Regions from separate parts of the Homo sapiens genome. Here region 1 is linked to region 2. Evidence: promoter capture Hi-C in human tissues and cell types (Jung and others, 2019). All regions are on one chromosome and are shown on one strand. The core of a region is centred on a gene start or on the middle of the fragment in contact, and the rest is flanking DNA. Distances in the headings are between cores, read along the strand shown.

Evidence for each region. Contacts are between HindIII fragments. The study calls those that stand out against the background at their distance.
Region 1: a fragment that was not itself captured here is called in contact with the fragment with the promoter of PKN1 in region 2 in 1 of the 25 tissues and cell types used here (spleen).

The regions. Positions count from the first base shown.
Region 1 is chr19:14,394,065-14,396,932 of GRCh38, reverse strand. It overlaps ADGRE5 (adhesion G protein-coupled receptor E5), which reads right to left. Exons shown (of 20, transcript NM_078481.4): 5 at 460-591. Among named protein-coding and RNA genes, the nearest start is that of ADGRE5, 14 kb to the right of the region's middle. RefSeq lists an enhancer at 1-497. The HindIII fragment of the contact is 4,012 bases long and covers 1-2,868 here.
Region 2 is chr19:14,431,987-14,434,686 of GRCh38, reverse strand. It overlaps PKN1 (protein kinase N1), which reads right to left and starts at 1,381. Exons shown (of 22, transcript NM_002741.5): 1 at 1,145-1,381. The coding sequence starts at 1,165. RefSeq lists silencers at 652-761, 1,052-1,121, 1,292-1,631 and enhancers at 341-913, 914-1,487, 2,362-2,641. The HindIII fragment of the contact is 61,187 bases long and covers 1-2,700 here.

The DNA.
Region 1 (2,868 bases), core at 319-2,818, 38 kb after region 2:
ACCTTCAAAGCATCTTATGATGGTCTTCCTACCAGATGGGCACAGCAGGGACCATGGTCCCCAGTTTATAGGAGGTGAAACCAAAAGGGAAACTGAGTCATGGGAGCTAGATTTCCATGACTAAAAACTAAAAACTCTCATCTGCTCCCTCCCTGGTCATAGTGGAGATTCCCCTTCTTAGAACTGGAAGTGACACCTTCTTCCACTCGCACGTGACAGATGAGGAAGGGGTGAGGTCTGGGGGCCCACAAGGGCACTCCAGCCCTGAAGGCCCTGCCGCCTCCCTGCCGTGTGGCAGGACCTTCCTGGGAGGTGAATCCTTAGGCAGGGGCTTAGCAGGTCCTTGACCTTGTGGGAACCTGCGGATCTTCCCCCTCCTCCTCGGCTGCTTTGGAGGACGTGCCTCAGCTCCATCCCCAGCTCCCGTCCAGCCTCACGGCGTCTTCCTGGGGCCTCTACCTGTGCAGACCTTCGGATCCTCAGGTATGAACTTGAAGCCAGGCAGGCACTGGCAGGTATAGCTGCCAAGGGTGTTGACGCAGGTGCCGTAGCTTTTACAGAGCCTTGGGTTCTGCTGACATTCGTCCACATCTGCAAGAGGAAGGAGAGGGTGAAGGATGCCCGTAGCTGTGAGCAGCTTTCAGGGCTGAGGGTCCGCCATGTTTCCTGGCACGGAAGCATCTGGAAGGCACCACTGTCTCCTCCCTTTTCCAATCCACACAGAGGCATCCTATGGTGAGGGTGGTGGCTCAGTCCTTCTGTTGTCCAGATGTGGCTGGAAGCAGCCAAGTCCTCCCCTTCTCCTCTGCCTTCCTGGGCAGCTCCAAGCTGGGGTGTCCCAGCCATCTGTGTCCCAGCCTAAGGATTCCGGGCAAAGGCCAGGGTGGGGCCTTCCTGAGAACCAAATGCAGGGGACATGCCGTGCGCCTGGGCAGGACACGTCTTGGTTCCCAACGGTGGCCCTCGGCCTGACTCCCACAGAACGGCCGCTCGCTGGCCAAATTCTCAGCATCCTGGTGGCCCTAGCAGGATGCTGCTCTCCCATCCACACTAGCTCTGAGAGCCCAGCTTCATGGGCATGGACCAAGACCCCTCCCTAAGCCAGTGCCCCCGCGATGCAGGGCAATAGCAGGGGTGGGGAGAGTGCGGGATGATGTGGGACAGGCTAGGGCTGCCCGGACAGTGGGCACCAGGCTGGGGTGAACAGTGGGGGCTGATGTCCAGCCAGGCAGCCCCGAGTCTACAAAGATGCTTTTTTCTGATCCCCAGGAAAGGATCTATGGATATGGAAATAGCAGGATTTGGTGAGAATCCATATCTAAGCAGAACTGGCCGTGAGCGGGGGCCTGTGGCTAGAGAGGGCACAGGTGCCGATGGGTGAGGGGTGGCAGATGTATCTGTCCTCTCATCCCTTGTCATTCCACCAGGGACAGAGACCTGTGGGCCCTGCTGAATGGGGTTCAAGCTTCCATCTCTGTCCTTGAGTGGTCCAGACCAGGACTGACTACAGGAGAGGATCGGGCCTGGGACGATGGTCCCCAGTGATGCTGTCTCTTGCCGGCTAGTCCAGGCTGGAGCCGCCTCCTTCATCCAACCCTCTGAGTGCGTTTTTGTTTTTTTTTTTTTTTTTTGGAGACAGCGTCTCTCTCTGTTGCCCAGGCTGGAGTGCAATGATGTGATCTCAGCTCACTGCGACCTCTGCCTCCCGGGTTCAAGCGATTCCCCTGCCTCAGCCTCCTGAGTAGCTGGGATTACAGGTGCGTGCCACTGCGCCCGGCTAATTTTTGTATTTTTAGTACAGACAGGGTTGCACCATGTTGGTCAGGCTGCTCTCGAATTCCCGACCTCAAGTGATCCTTCCACCTTGGCCTCCCAAAGTGCTGGGATTCCAGGCATGAGTCACGGCACCCAGCCCTCTGAATCCATTTGTGGGGTCCACATCACGCTGCCCACACCTGGCCACAGCATCCTCCCAAGCTTTGGTCATTGACGGTGCGTTCAGGCCCAGGAATTACCAGGGTGGGTTAGGGTGGAGCCTTGGATGGGGAAATGGATGAGGGCTAAACGGCCAGAAAGGTGGTCGGGAGGCATCTTCTCCAAGCAAGGCTGCTGGCTGGAGACAGTTGTCCTGTCCTTGAGATTCCCTCCTCCTGAGTTTCTGGACAGGGTTTTGGGGTTCATTATGGTAGGTGTGGGTGTCAGAGGGGTTCCAGGTGTGGCTGAGCTCATGGGAGCCCCGGTGGCAGCAAGTCTCATCCTGGCAGTCCCCGGCGATGGCGGAGAGGATGGATACTGTACTGGAATGCGCCACCACACGCCATGTCATGAGCCCATGAAATATCCTGAGTGCCAGCCCCCTTTTGTTTTATGCAAATAAGATGCCAGATGGGCAGGGGGATGTTCCGAGCTTCCAAAGTGGCCTCCTGTGGAGTGTCCCGAGTCTCAGGGTTGGGACAAAGACGGGTGATCAGGGGTTTAGGATGGCCCTGAGATGCCTGGAGACAGGGGGGTGAGGAGTGGAGGGAGCCGCCCGAGGTCTCTGGCCTGGATGTCACAGGCCCCATGGGCTGTGACACTGGGTGCACGTGTCCTCAGGTGCAATAGCGAAGCCTGGAGTGCCTTGGGTTAAAGGGAGGGGCCCAGGCCCCTCTGAGCGTCTCACCTCTGGTCATAGGTCCTGCTCCAAACCAGCAGGCTGTTGGCTCCATCACCTGCTTTGATGTCCGTGGAGGTCCCTCTTATCACCTCAGCCCTGCTGTCCATGTCTCTGCCCAGCTGCCTGACTGAGTCCCCTTCTCTCAGCCCAGGCCTGTTTCTAACACAGCAACACACCTCCTTCATAACCACAACCACCATCCCATGCAGGGG
Region 2 (2,700 bases), core at 132-2,631:
GACCCCGGCCCATCCCGGCCTTGAGGTCTGACCTTGTGTGATCGGCAACACCAGATACGCCCAGCTCCTCGGCAAGGCCGGCAGGCCATCAGCAGGACTGGGAAGGCGGGAGGGACCGGGGGTTACCGGGGAGACACAAAGGGGCCGGGGGCAGGTGCAGAAGGAGACGAGAACCCAGTTACACAACAACCACAGGACAATGAACTGGATGGTGAGGTGCTAATGGGGACACTGAGGCACAGACATTTCTCAGATTTGGGTCACTTGAACCAAAGAAGGTTGGCAGTCACCCTGGCCGTGCTTGTCACAGACGGGGAAGATGAGTCCAGGTCAGTGATCCCCACCAGGTGGCACAAGGGGAATCTGGCTGGGCGGGAGGCTGGTGCCAGTCACGTGTGTGTGTTAGCAGGGTGGGGGTGACCCAGCCATGCCCAGCCACCATGCAAAAAAGTAGGATTCTATATATGGGAGCATCCCTGGCCTGTTGACTGAGACACTCCCCACCCAGGAGAAGGTTCCACCTGACAGCCCAAGGGTGGGAGTGGGGGTCCCCATTCCCCCGACCTAATGCAGTGACTCGGGTACTTCCGCCAACAGGTGCCAATCTGGGTGGCGTCTGGAACATCATAAAGCTGTCTAGAGGCGGGGGTGGCTGGAGCTTTGTTATGCGGGGGAAGGGCACGGGCCGGGCCCAGCAGCCTCCTCCCCTCCCAGGGCACTGCGCCAGGCACGTGCCCCAGGTGGAGCGGCACCTGCCGGGTACCCAACCCTGGGGAGGGGGATGAGTTTGGGGGCGGACGAGAGGCACTGGGACGCCCAGCCAGCCACAGACACCCGAAGTAGAGCCTCCGCCGCGCCCCTTCTAGTTCTCCAGGAGAGGCCGAGTTTGAGGGTGTAGCAGGGGTTGCCTCCGGGATCGCCCCCAAACCAGCCCAGTCCACATCGCCACCTGCCGAGAAGGGGGCCTCGCTGGCTCCACAGTCCCGGCCCAGGGAGGGGGCGCCGGGCGCTCCGGAGGCCCCCGCCCTTGCCATCGTCACCCGAGTCCCGTTCCGGGGGCTGGGGGGGCTCCCCCGGCAGCGCGCGGGCGGGGTCCGCCGGCGCCGTCCGGTCGCCCCGGGACTCCAGACGCAGGTGCGCCTACCTGCACGGCGTCGCTGGCCATGTCCTCCTGCCGCCCGCCAGGGGTCCCCGCGCGGAGGGAGGGGCGGCCAGAGGAGCGCGCGTGCGCCCCGGGCGTGGCGGGGAGGGGGCGGGCGCGGCGCGACCCTCCCCGGCGCGCGGCCCGCTCCGGCCTGCTCGGCTCCCGCCTCGCCTGGCCAGGCCGCCGCGTCCCCGCGCCGCGCCCTCCGGCCCCAGCGGCCGCCGGGCCTGGTCACGTGACCCCGGAGGTCGGCGCCCGGGGAGGGGGCGGGGCCGAGGGGGGACGGGTTCCCAGAGGCCCCCGGGGCTGCGGGGTCCCGCCCGTCCGCCCCCTCGGTCTCCCGAGCCCGGAGCATCCCCATCGGCTCCCCACCTTTCCTCTTTCCGGGTCCCGAGACGACCGCACGCTGCCGAGGGGTCCCCCATTGGAGCGCGCGGGAACCCGAGGAGAACGGTTCCACGCGTTCAAGCCGAGAGCGGCGGAGGCCTTTGGGCCTCCCGGGACCCCTGAAAAAAACAAACAGAATAACCCCCCACCCCACCCTACCCCGGTGCATTTGCAAGCTCGGGACGCCTGCATCTGTGGTCCCCTATTCAAGGGCATGGAAGTTTCCCCGTTACCTGGAGACAAGCTCTGGGCGGATCTGCATTCAAATCCTAGCGCTTTACGCCTTGAGGGAGACAAACCCTTCCAGGCACCTCATCTGTGAAATGGGAATGATGCGCTCACCTCCTCGGTGTTGGTAAAATTCAATAAGACAGTGCAGGCCAAGAGCTGAGAACACACTAGACGCTCCATAAGTGTTAGCTGCTGTCACTTTTAATGTTATCGTAATTGTTTGTTTGTTGTTTTGCTATTTTTGGACGGAGTTTCGCTCTGTTGCCCATGCTGGAGTGCAGTGGCGCGATCTCGGCTCACTGCAACCTCCGCCTCCCGGATTCAAGTGATTCTTCTGCCTCAGCCTCCTGAGTAGCTGGGATTACAGGTGCCCACCACCATACCCGGCTAATTTTTGTATTTTTAGTAGAGACGGGGTTTCATCATATTGGCCAGGCTGGCCTCGAACTCCTGATCTCAGGTGATCCGCCCGCCTCGGTCTCCTAAAGTGCTGAGATTACACAGGCCTGAGCCACCGCGCCCAGCCTCTATTATCGTTATTGTTATTAAAAGAGGTTTGAATCCCAACTTGCTGTTCATCCTGGGGACCCCTGTGGCCTCTGAGTCTCAGTTTTCCCCGCTATAAAATGGGCATCGCCTTCTTTTTCGGGGCTGCTGCATGCAGATGGCGCTCCATAAATGCAGACTCGTGCCCAAGCGGAGAGTGGAGGCCTCTGCGGAATTTCTAGGGGATCTCCGGGGTCTGCAGAGCGTGCAGCTTTGTTCGTGGCCGCCGTCGGACCCTCACTCCTTCGGAAACCAGGCGAGGGAGCCAAACCTTGGTCTCCGGGGCTCCGGCAGGGAGCGCTCCCTGGCGGCGGTGCCTGCACATTGGCGCCCTTTGGGACCCGAGGAAGCGCCGTGGGCTGCGGGTACCTTGGTTACCCGTGGCTCTGCGT